Regions from separate parts of the Homo sapiens genome. Here regions 2 and 3 are each linked to region 1. Evidence: promoter capture Hi-C in human tissues and cell types (Jung and others, 2019). All regions are on one chromosome and are shown on one strand. The core of a region is centred on a gene start or on the middle of the fragment in contact, and the rest is flanking DNA. Distances in the headings are between cores, read along the strand shown.

Region 1 (4,169 bases), core at 1,517-4,016:
AGGTTCTAGTTAAAGAACTCCAGACATCATTATGGGTTGATTTCTGAACTAGACGGCCATAACTAATGATTTCAATCAAATCCCATTTTCAGTAGGCAGAACTAGTAAGTAGAATTCCTTAGAGAATGTGGCTTACTCTTAATCCTATATGGGTATGTTATATATGTGTTATATAAAATGCCATCTGTCATAAAACAAAACATTTTATTAAGAAGATTTTTTTTAATTGTACATTCTGCAAATGATCAAATTCTGTAAGCTAAACCAGAGGTCCTCAGAATGTGGCCCCAGATCAACAACACTGGCATCACCTGGGAACATGTTAGAAACACAGGTTCTCAGGCCTCACCAGACACACAGGAGCAGAAACTCTGGGGTGGGGTCCAGCAATCTGCATGTTAACAAGCCCCCCAGCTGACGCTGATGCCCTGAAGACCACTCTAGCCTGAAGACCAATGTCCTAGGGTCACCATGATCACAAGGTTCCTGATTGGTCCATTTGGAATATTTCTAAATGCTAGTGCGATCCCTGAATTATGATTCCTTTCATTTCCAGGTCTTTTGATTCTCAAGAATCTGTACCCCTGTCTTCAGATGACACTGTTTCTGCAATAAAGCCAATGTTTGTGGCCCTGCCCAAACTCATATGTTGAAATCCTAAGCCTCAAGGTGATGGTATTAGGAGGAAAGGCCTTTGGGAGGTGATTAGGTCATAAGAATGGAGCTCTCATACATGGGATTAGTGCCTTTATAAAAGAGGCCTAAGAGAAACCCTTCGCCCCTTCCACCATGTGAGGGCACAGCCAGAAGGCACCATTTGTGAACCAGAGGCCCCTCACCAGACACTGAATCTTCTAGCACCTTAATCTCCAACTTTGGACCTCCACCCTCCAAAATGGTGAGAAATAAATGCTTGTCATTTAAGCCACCCAGTCTAAGGTATTTGTTATGGCAGCCAGAACATACTAAGACCATTTCCCTGCCACAGCTGCCCACAGCTCTCTGCTAGGTTTTCTGCTCCCTGCCCTGCACTCCTGGACTCCTCCTCCAGTGTCAATCATGACGCACTTTGCAGGGAAGGAAGTTCTCACCCTCAATTGCTCTCCTCACTCACATATGTTCAGAGCTCTCTTTACAACTGCTGGAGCACTCACATATCCCAAGGGAAAGCTTCTGTGTTCCATCCTGGACCTTCTAGGGGCTACCACGCTTCCACCAGGGCCGCTGCTCTCACCATAAGCTTCAGACTCTCATCTCCCGAGATCTTGCTCACAGCGCAGCTGCCTTCCGCTCACACAGGCCAGAGGGGCCACCTTGTCTCTTCTTAGAGCAACTTCCCACCACTCCCTTGGGGCTCAACCTTCGCTTTATGTTCTGTAAAAGCCAGCAGTTCTCAAACTTGAGACTGCATCAGGCACACCTGGAGGGCTTGTGAAAATCCAGAATGGTGAGTCCCGCCCCCCAGAGTTTCTGATTTAATAGGTCTTGAGTAGCCCAGAATTTGCATCTCTAACAAGCCCCCAGTGGAAGCTGAGGCTGTCATCTTCCCAGGCCGCACTTTGAGAACTGCTGTTGAAAGCCATCATCACTGAACTTATTTGCAGAGGTACCTAAAAATAATCAATCCACAACTGTTCCTTCTCCAAATGACCACTCTCTGATGTCTATCAAGAAATCCAAATTATTTACCAATTAATTTATTGGTAATTATGTTCCACCTATTTCAAAAAAAGTTTTGAGCTAACTCTAATTTTTGCTTAGCCATCAGCAGAAATAGTAAATTTACCTAGTGCATTCAGAAAAATGCTGTTCCTCCCAGGGAAAATAGTGTTTTCTATTGCTCCTGAAATCTGCTGACCTTGGCACTGACTCTGGTCCTCTTACATTAAGGTGAAGCTGGGGCGGGGTTGAGGAATCAAGACTGAGAAACCTTGCTGTCCTGCAGCAGAATAGAGATACATGGAAGAAGGAAGACAGAATCTTGGCTTTGAAGAGAAAGTGAGATGTGATGTCAATGATCCCACTAACACCAAAACCAGCAAACCAGCCTCCTTAAGGGTGGCCCCACCTCCCCACCCTTCCTACTTTTTCTACCAAGCCAAACCCAGAAATAGAACACGGCTCACTTCTCAGGGCTATTGCCTCTGCCTCATCTCCAGAGACCACATCTGCAGCTCCCAAAACAAGGTCTGTTCTGCAGCTGGACAATTCACTGCTAAAATCCCAAACCTAAGAGCAGAGCCAAAGCCAGAGGAGAGGAAAGTGACAATAGGGCCAAAGCCTCATTCCAGATTCCAAATGTCATTCTGTAGCCCTCGTGCTATCAACTGCTGCCTGCTGGCTGCAGCCAGGTCCCTGGGTCCATACACAGCCTGCATCAAGAGCCTGCAGAGACTCGGGGGCTGGAGATGGGAAACAGATGGTGGCCTGCGCTTTGTCTTTCCCAAGTTTACAGCCTCACCTGGGGGTGGAGGCTGTTCTGAGGGGCCCCCAAGAGGTAAGTTCACGCATCACTACTGACCCTCTCCCTGTGAAAGCAGAAAGTCAGCACGCATCCTACCCCAGACCAGACCAGCCACACCTGTAGATTCAAGGTCCTGGGGGAACAGTATTCAAATGCCTCTGCTCTCAGCCTTTTACTTCTGACTGTGGTTCCCAGCGAGTCTAAAATTTGAGAAGTGAAACTGAACATCCAACTGCCTTGGTGAGGGGAGAGGAAGAAATTTTACAGGCTTTTTATTGGCCGGTTATTTTTCTGTGTGTCCCATACAGGCCCCCACCATGAAGGGTTTCACAGCCACTCTCTTCCTCTGGACTCTGATTTTTCCCAGCTGCAGTGGAGGCGGCGGTGGGAAAGCCTGGCCCACACACGTGGTCTGTAGCGACAGCGGCTTGGAAGTGCTCTACCAGAGTTGCGGTAAGCCCTTGCAGTACACCCATGTGTGTTTATGGGGAAAGCAAGGCCCACAGATGTGAGCCGCTAGTGCTCAGTTGGAGTTGGGGTGGGAGGGGAGAGGGGACCAGCAGCTGAACACTTTCTCCACCTGCAGCAGGTCTGGGAGGGCCACTGGGAGCTTTTGGAAGAAGGAGCGGTGGGGCCAGGACTGGGAGCGGAAGAGAATGGCAGAACAACAAAGAGTACAAGAAAGAGAAATTGAATCTAAATATAGCCATTTACTAACACCACAGAACCCAAAAAAGAACAAAATGATCAGTGAGTCTACCAAATCATCAAACCTCACCAGCTGAAAATTAGGAAAAGCAGCTTCCAGTAGGCCCTTCCTCAACACCGTACACCTGGGCTACCTTTCCATCTGATGTACTTTGCAAGTGAAGTGAAAAGATCACTTCTGCCCAAAGAGAAGATTCCTGTCCCTCTCTGGACACTTTCAGAGCTTTCACTGCAGCAGTAGCTCTCATGAATTCAGCAAGCACTTCGCATGCAGCTATCAATGCCAGGGTTTCTCAGTGCTAGAGATAATAAAAGTGCATATGCCAGGCCTGTCACCCCAGCGGGCCAACCCAATACGCCAACAGATAATTGCAATTCAGTGAAGAGAATGCAGTGAACTGTGGTAAGAAGTGTCAGAACCAACCAATCGGGCTGTGTCTTAGTCAGCTAGGGCTGCCATAACAAACCACCACAGGCTGGGGACTTAAATAACAGATTTATTTCCTCACAGCTCTGGAAGCTGGGCTGGTTTCTCCTGAGACCTCTCTTCTTTGCTTCTAGGTGGCATCTTCTCCCTGTCTCCTCATGTGCTCTTCCCTCTGTGTACATCTGTGTCCTCATCTCCTCTTCTTATAAGTACACAATCATATCAGATTAGGGCCCACCTCCATGGCCTCACTTTAGCTTAATCAGCTCTTTAAAGACCCTATCTCCAGCAGGGCATGATGGCTCACACCTGTAATCCCAGCACTTTGGGAGGCTGAGGAGGGTGAACCACTTGAGGTCAAGCATTCAAGACCAGCCTGACCAACATGGAAAAACCCTGTTTCTACTAAAAATATAAAATTAGCTGGGCATGGTGGCACGCGCCTGTAATCCCAGCTACTTGGGAGGCTGAGGCAGAATTGCTTGAACCCAGGAGGTGGAGGTTGCAGTGAGCCAAGATCGTGCCATTGTACTCCAGCCTGGGCAAGAGGAGCGAAACTCTGTCTTAAAA
Region 2 (4,080 bases), core at 1,375-3,874, 1.1 Mb before region 1:
ATATTGATTTCATTATGTTCGTATTAATACATTTTAATTTTTAGGTGCACATGCCTGAAGGCACAAGGCTCTTAAACACATAATAATCAAAAAGCTAATTAATCACAAATGGGCAAGTTTCCCAAATAATTCCAGGAATAGGTACAATTAAGAAATAATACCCTGCGCACAAAGTAGAATAAAAACACACAAGCAGACAAGAAACTTCATTACAAGCCATAAAAACCAAAGAGAAAAACAGAAGAGTCTCATTTCCTAAGCCAGGTAATGCCTAAGCCAGGTAATGTATTAGGAGGGCTATTGGAGGAAAAGGGTCATTTCGTAGACCTGTGGCCCTAACCATGCCTTTTCTCTGTTTTCCTCATTAAACTGGTGAATCTTGACTCATGCCTCTGTTATATTAATGATTTCTTCTAGCTTTGAGGGATCTAGAAGTCTCATAAGCACCCCTTTTATTTCTCTGAGTGGCTGCTGAGAACCCTAAATAGAACAGGGACAGGTTCAGGAGTCTGTTAGAGGATACAAGAAACCTCTTTCCATGTGTACACATTCATTAATCAGAACTTTTCACATATAAAGGTTCAACAAGTTTCAGATCCATCTAAATAAACAGTTGAGTCCTCTTTTCTCTTTTGTGAGTATATTCTAGGGACTTCAGCCAAGTGCTTTGCTATAATCAGAATATGCTTTATTTATGGCATTTTTTGGCTTACCCGCCCAGTAAATGCAACCACAAGAGATGATAAGAATGGGATGTTAGTCAGCACTCTTTTAGTTCCAAGAGTCAGAAACCCAACTAAAGCAAAAAAAGGAAATTCAATTGCTCACATAATAGGAGGCCCGGGGGGTGGGCTTGCTTCTGATTCAGCTGAATTCAGGCCACACAGCTAATTAGAGGGAGAGCCAGTTCTGGAATTGACTTCAGGTCCTCCGACTCCCAGGGCAATGCTCTTTCCATTACCTGGTGCTACCTCTATGCTACCTCAATCAATAGCAGCCAAATTAAAAACAAAATGAAACAAGAAGGGCATGTCTTCTCCTTGGGGTCACTAATAATTTATTCTGATTTTACCTCTCAAGACTTGCATTGTTCATGTTCCTGAAGGAAATTAGCAAAGGCTTTTGGGTGTCTTTATGAAGGAGAAATCATTGCTTTCTACCTACTTGTATTCCACTTTGTGTCCTAAGCTAAGGTAGATGGTTTGCCCGTCAATTATTTGTCCATCCATTTAGTCTGAAAACATTACTCAGCATTTCCTAGGTTACAGATGCTGTGCCAGGCACCCGAGATTCAAATGTGATAAAGACATTGATAATTTGGTGACAAAGGACAATTCAAGCAGAAGGCCTAGTAAATGTAAAAACACAAACACTTTCATGCATTCATTCTTTTCAGCAAAAAATATGTATTAAGCACAAAGTAGGTGACAGGAACTGTGTGTGCTAGGTGTCATTAGTAGGCATAAAAAAAGGAGAACATAGGTTGGGGACTGCAAATAGTTCATTATGGCAGAAGCACAGGTCTCACATGGGAGAATATGGGAGTGAGGGAAAAATGTAGACTGATGTCCAGTCATCAGACACACTGGGGACCCTGGATAGGTTTGACGCAAGAAAGTGTCCTTGTCTGATTTTCATCCTAGACACTCCAATTGCAGATGCGTGGGTTGGGTTGGAGAGGGGTGGATGGCAGGCTGGAAAACCTGATGGAGGCTATGGGAATATTTCCTAGGGGAGAGGGTGGACACTATGAGGTGGCGGTGGTTGGGATGGAGAGAAACTAGGTTCACGAAGGAATCCAGAGGTCAAAATCAGCAAGTCCTAGTGACTCATCTCATGTGACAGGTGAGGGAGGGAATGGAGTTCAGATAGTCAGGAACCTTGTGAACAGCGAGGTTATTACCTGAGACTGGAACTCTGGGGAAAGGAGCTGAGCCGTGTTTGTGTTGTATCCACATTAACTTGAGCAGTGCCTGACATGTAGGAGGGACTCAGTCAATGTTTTTGAGTGAATACCTGAATATTACAAAAAGGACCATACCAGAAAGTACTGACAGGGGAAGTTATCCTAATTCAGAAGGCCATGGGAGGCCACCTGAAGAAGTGATATTTAGCCGAAGGTCTAGAATGATTTGGAGGCAATCAGGGAAAATAGAGAAGTTTGCACTCTTTGTGTTCGAGTCTCAAATGCCATCCAGGGCGCCTGTGTCTTTTCGTTCTGGCTGCTGCCTCTACCTTTTTCTACTCCTGGCATTGCCTTGTGGCCTTCTGTTCCTGAGCCTCTTCTGTGTGTGCAGGGAGGCAGCAGGTTGTCCAGGGTGATAAGAATGGTAACGTCATAGTAACTACTGTTTATTAAGCGTTTAGTTTCCTGATCTCATTCAGCAGCCCTCAGTCACAGAAAATGAATGCTGAGTTCTCAGAGTTTATTGCTGTCTAAGTGGGCACGTAGGCCCTAGTCAGGGCCCTGCCAGGTTCCCAGGGTGGGGAAGGCTTTCTGTACCATTACAGATCACAAGAGTTCAAGAAAAAATGACTTTATGAGGTATCTTTAGGTTATCTAAAAAAAAAAAATTTAACAACTATTGATCCAGCCAAATGCACTGTTGTATCTCTTCATTGGGGATTTGTGTTCTCCCATGGTATACAGGAGGTTTGAGGATACTTAAGGAGAGTATACAATGCAGTAAAGTAGGGAAAAAATAGAAAATTAACATAAAAATCTGGACATATATATATATATATATATGATAAAGTGAATCTAGGAATGTGCCAGATGTGTTGTAGTTTAAAGAAATATTGTGTGTATTACAGATTCACAAATATGCAGCCAAACCCTTAAATGAAGCATAAGTAATCTGCCAGCCACCTAGTTAAAGCAAGTTTTGTGAATTATAATGAAATTCTCTCCAAGTACACATTTCTAATGGAAGGAAATTTACTTTAGAGGAACATTAAAAAGACAAAATTCTTGATCGTCTCAGAAATGTGGGTAGCCTTGTCTTGCATAGTCATTCTGTAATAGTAATTGGGACTTGCCTAATTGCATTTATTATTTAGAGAGGCTTGGCTGCATTTAAAAGTCTAAACATTCATGAAAATCTGTTCTAAATGTCTAAAAGTTTTTCAGTATGAATTTAAAGTTGGGACATTCTGGCCTTAGGGAATTCACCCCACAATTGGCTGAACTATTTTTGTTGAAACACAAAGTAATCATGGTTTCAGTTTGTAAATTAGCTATTGCTGTGAGCTGCTGTACCTGGTGAAGAGAATTTTCTCTGAAATTGACAACTCTCTTTCCAAATGTTCCACTACAGTCTTATACTGACATCCCTTGACATCCCTATGGGTACAGTCATGAGATTCAAATTGTACATTCTTAATCTTCCCCCAAAATGACATCTGTGGCTTTTTTTTTTTTTAAGAGATGGAGTCTCACTGTGTTGCCTAGGCTGGAGTGCAGTGGCATGAACATGGCTCAACTGCAGCCTCAACCTCCTGGGCTCAAGTGATCATCTTGTCTCAGCCTCCCAAGAAGCTGGGAGTACAGGTGCATGCCATGCCTGGCTAAATGTTTTTTGTTTTTTGTTTTTTTTTTCAAGAGATGGGGTCTTACTGTTGCCCAGACTGGTCTTGAATTCCTGGTCTCAAGTGGTCCTCCTGGTTCAGCCTCCTGAGTAACTGGGATTACACGGACAAGCCTTCAAGCGAAACTCCATCTGTGGCTTTTAATTAAAGATGGACGTATTGTAATCTATGTGGCCATAGGGAAATAATAGCAAATAGTAAAATTGAAAGAGGTACATCTGACAGTAATAATAAAAACTTTTTTGTAATTCTGGAAATAATGTGACACCGCACTGCTACTCAGAGATAACAAATGAAGCTTAATTGAAGTTCCATGAAACTCTTGCCAATAGGAATTTCTCATGGTGTATGATTACCATGTGGAACGAAAACTCTAGGTCCTAGACTCAGACAATGACTATGATATAGTCATTTCATGGGGATATTGCCATTTTAGAAAAAGTAGTGCTTGAAACCTGATTCAGCGTTTTTTTATTTTTATTTTTATTTTTA
Region 3 (3,739 bases), core at 80-2,579, 1.3 Mb before region 1:
CCGGAGTCAGATCATTTCTCTCATTTAAGAAAACAATAATTCTAGAAAATGACTTTTAAGTGACAGGTGGTAAAATGGACTGTCTTGAGTATGTGCTTGATACTCCAAACTTTACCAGTCTGCACTGAGAAGGCAAAAAGAATCAGTAACTGTTATGTAATATTTTTAATACTTCCTAGCTTGTCAGTATAATGCCATTGTGAATGCTGTGCAACCATGCAAAATAAGTACATTGAAATGTAGGGATTCAGATGGCTTTTTAGTCATTTAATGAGCAATAGGAATTTTTGGAATTTCAAGGAAAGTGTTACCTTGCCAGAGGACTTGCTCTGTATTGCTAGGGAGTCTCACTGCTCAGGAGACTGAGGAACAGAGCAGGGCATGCAGCCTATCATTGCCGTGGCTGCTTAGAAGGAAGCAGCAGCAAGCAGGCATGAGAGGCAGCCTATTTCAGGGGTTGCAAAAGAAACACATGGTCCATGGCGCTTAGGGGAGGGAGCATTCACATCCCAGGCGGACACCAGGGGAAGCGCCTGAGGTTGGTGGTGGTTTCAGTAGGTGCTGAAGGCCACGAGCCATTTTAGCCGGTGCATATGGGGAAGGGAGACAATCATGACATGGGCATTCCTGATAAAGGAGGCCACCGGAGTTGAGGGTTAGTGGTAGGGAAAAAAAGAGCAGCTGTTCGAGTTTTGATCAGCTGGAGTGTGCGATTTAGTCCCTGGAAGAGAAAGGGGCTTGGGCCCGTGTGGAGCACTTTGATAGGCTAAGTGGAACCCTGATTTTGTGAAACTTAATAAACTGGTGCTTTAGAAAGGTGGGTCCAGGAATGGTGCCTAGCGTCAATCAGAGAAGATAAGTTATTTAAAAGGGAAAGTGGTTAAAGGCTGTTTTAATTCTCCAGGAGGAAGATGCTGAGGGTCTCTACATTATGTCCATTGTGATGAGGGTGGAAAGGAGGGCCAAATGGCAGAGATATTGTCCAGACAGAGGCTGGCTGAACAGCAGGGATAAAGGAGAGAGTGGCCATAAAGCCTAGTGGCTTGCAATGCATATAGTATAACATTCAAGGGCCAGGCACGGTGGCTTACACCTGTAATCCCAGCAGTTTGGGAGGCTGAGGCAGGTGGATCATTTGAGGTCAGGAGTTCAAGACCAGACTGGCTGACATGGTGAAACCCTGTCTCGACTAAAAATTCAAAAAAAATGCAGGATATGGTGGCCCACACCTGTAATCCCAGCATTTTGGGAGGCTGAGACAGGCAGATCACCTAAGGTCAGAAGTTTGAGACCAGCCTGACCAATATGAAGAAACCCCATCTCTACTAAAAATACAAAAATTAGCTGGGCATGTTGGCATGCGCCTGTAATCCCAGCTACTCAGGAGGCTGAGATAGGAGAATCACTTGAACCTGGGAGGTGGATGTTGCAGTGAGCTGAGATTGTGCCATTTCACTCCAGCCTGTGCAACAAAAGTGAAACTCCTGTCTCAAAAAAAAAAAAAAAAAAAAACAAATTAGCCAGGCGTCTTGGTGGGCATCTGTAGTCCTGGCTACTCGGGAGGCTGAGGCAGGAGAATTGCTTGAACCCAGGAGGTGGAAGCTGCAGTAAGCTGAGATTGCGCCACTGCACTCCAGCCTGGGCAACAGAGCGAGACTTTGTTTCAAAAAAAAAAAAAAAAAATCAGAAGGCATAAATACATACAGGATGAAAAATCAGCTTCTCTCCTGTCTCTGTCCTTCAGCTCTTACCTGGTCTTAGACATTTTCTTATATATGCATGTATATGCATAAACTACATTTATATCGCATTTCTAAAAGGTGTCAGGTACCATTCACACTATTCTTGTTTTTATCCTTTAACAGTATATCTCACAGATACCCTGTATCAAATGTATCAATACATGTAGAGGTGCCTTATTCTTAATTTACTTAGCCAGTCCCCAATCAATAAAAATTTGTTTCCTGTCTTCAGCTTTTACAAATTGTTTAGTGAATATAATATCCTCATTCAGGCATCATTTTGCACACATACAAACAGGTATATATGTAGGTTTAAATTATTGCTTGCCGAAATAAAGGATATATGCATTTAAAATGTTGATAGATATTGTCAAATTATCTTCTACAAAGGTTTTTACCAGCAATGCCTCTTTCTTAGACCCTTACTGATAGTGTTATCAAACAATTTGATCTTTCCCAAACTGCACATTAAAAATACTATCTAATTGTCATTTCAATTTGCATTTCTCTCATGAATGCTATTGAGCACCTTGTTACAGCTTTCAGAGGCATTTGTAATTCATTTCGGGGGATCGTTCTGTCATTAGCTCATTCTCATTTTGCTATTCAGAGGTTGGACTTATATGGAGTGCTGGTGATGGTTTCTCATAAATCACTATTCTGGAGTTTTGGTGGATATATTAAGGCAACAGTCTTCCTATTTTATTAAAAGTTTATTTGTCTTAAGAGGGAATTTTAACTTTGGTCCAATGTCTGGGGAGCTGATGGTATGCTGTTTCTCTTTCGATCGTAGGACAAGTTAGAGAAATAGATTTCCTATCTTGAATTATGGGGTGTGTGCCTGCAATCCACCACCTGCTCTGGCTGTCGTGCAGTGTTCTTCCATGGCTTCTGGGTTCTGTTTGTTAACATTTTATTTGAGATTTCTGCATATAGATCATAAATAGTGCTTATGTTTTATATGTTATTTATCACTGGAACTACTTTTCAGAGATCACCAGTCGCCTTCTGGTGATTACATTAACACTCCCTCACCTTGTTTACTGTCTTCCATCCCCTTCAACTCATCTGTGGCATTTCACACCCTGACTAGTGTTCTCATTTCACCTTCTTGAAATGTTCTCCCTCCTCTTCTGTGATGTGAAGAGCTGAGCTCTGTGGTCCTTGGTGGGTCTTCCTCCTCTCAGCGCTTCTGTCTTCTCCCCAGAGCCTCCCTCCGTGGCCTTTCGACTCCGGTGATCACTGGCATGGGCCTCTCTCAAGCATTGCTTAACATGTTCATCTGCATGGCCTGCCATCACCTGGAACTCAATGTGTCTGAAACAAACTCAGTCGTCACCCCCACCCCAAGTCAGCTTCTCACTCAACCTCTAACGTTTTGTTAAGGATCCTGGCTCCAGCATGTGTGGAGTGCCTTCCATGTGCCTGGCTCTAAGAAGCCAGGTAGCAAGGAGAAAAAGTGACAGCAAAGGGGGCAGGCAACAAATACAGATTTCAAGAGACTTGAAGCGAGAAAGAAAAGGCCACAGGTTGGAGAGGGAGAGGCTGACAGGAGCCTGATCTGTCTGAGGTGCAGAAGCAGTCAGGGTGAGAAGCATCGGATGCAGTGACGGAAGAGGCCAAAGGGAGCAGTGTCCAGGAGGCGACCGAGGGGAGCAATAAGCTGGAGGAGGAGTCCAGAGGGAGAAGGGGAGGAAGGCAGGATCTAGAGAGACTGATGGGGGAACACCAGCTGCCGGAGGATGAGGCCTGTGCTGAGAAGAGTGGGGTTTGGTTCTTGAGGAGAATAGACATTTTAAGTCCTCTGAACATTTTTCTTAATGTGTATTATACCTTTGTGAGCAAAATGCTGTTCTCAGCTACTTTTGAGAGACTCGTAAAGCGTGTAGGAGGACACGGAGGACCATGGGGGACTCATCTTTGCACATGGTGGGTGCTCGCAGTTATTCCTTGAATGTAAGGCTGCATCAGCAAGTGCATTCTCTCTTCAGGCAAGA

What was found. Contacts are between HindIII fragments. The study calls those that stand out against the background at their distance.
Region 2: a fragment that was not itself captured here is called in contact with the fragment with the promoter of LY86 in region 1 in 1 of the 25 tissues and cell types used here (heart left ventricle).
Region 3: a fragment that was not itself captured here is called in contact with the fragment with the promoter of LY86 in region 1 in 1 of the 25 tissues and cell types used here (spleen).

The regions. Positions count from the first base shown.
Region 1 is chr6:6,585,954-6,590,122 of GRCh38, forward strand. LY86 (lymphocyte antigen 86) reads left to right here and starts at 2,767. Exons shown (of 5, transcript NM_004271.4): 1 at 2,767-2,917. The coding sequence starts at 2,782. The region is part of intron 1 of LY86-AS1 (LY86 antisense RNA 1); the gene reads right to left. RefSeq lists enhancers at 1,064-1,153, 1,164-1,293. The HindIII fragment of the contact is 16,234 bases long and covers 1-4,169 here.
Region 2 is chr6:5,511,361-5,515,440 of GRCh38, forward strand. All of the region lies in intron 4 of FARS2 (phenylalanyl-tRNA synthetase 2, mitochondrial), which reads left to right. Among named protein-coding and RNA genes, the nearest start is that of FARS2-AS1, 55 kb to the left of the region's middle. The HindIII fragment of the contact is 6,166 bases long and covers 1-4,080 here.
Region 3 is chr6:5,281,884-5,285,622 of GRCh38, forward strand. The region is part of intron 1 of FARS2 (phenylalanyl-tRNA synthetase 2, mitochondrial); the gene reads left to right. Among named protein-coding and RNA genes, the nearest start is that of FARS2, 22 kb to the left of the region's middle. The HindIII fragment of the contact is 8,093 bases long and covers 1-3,739 here.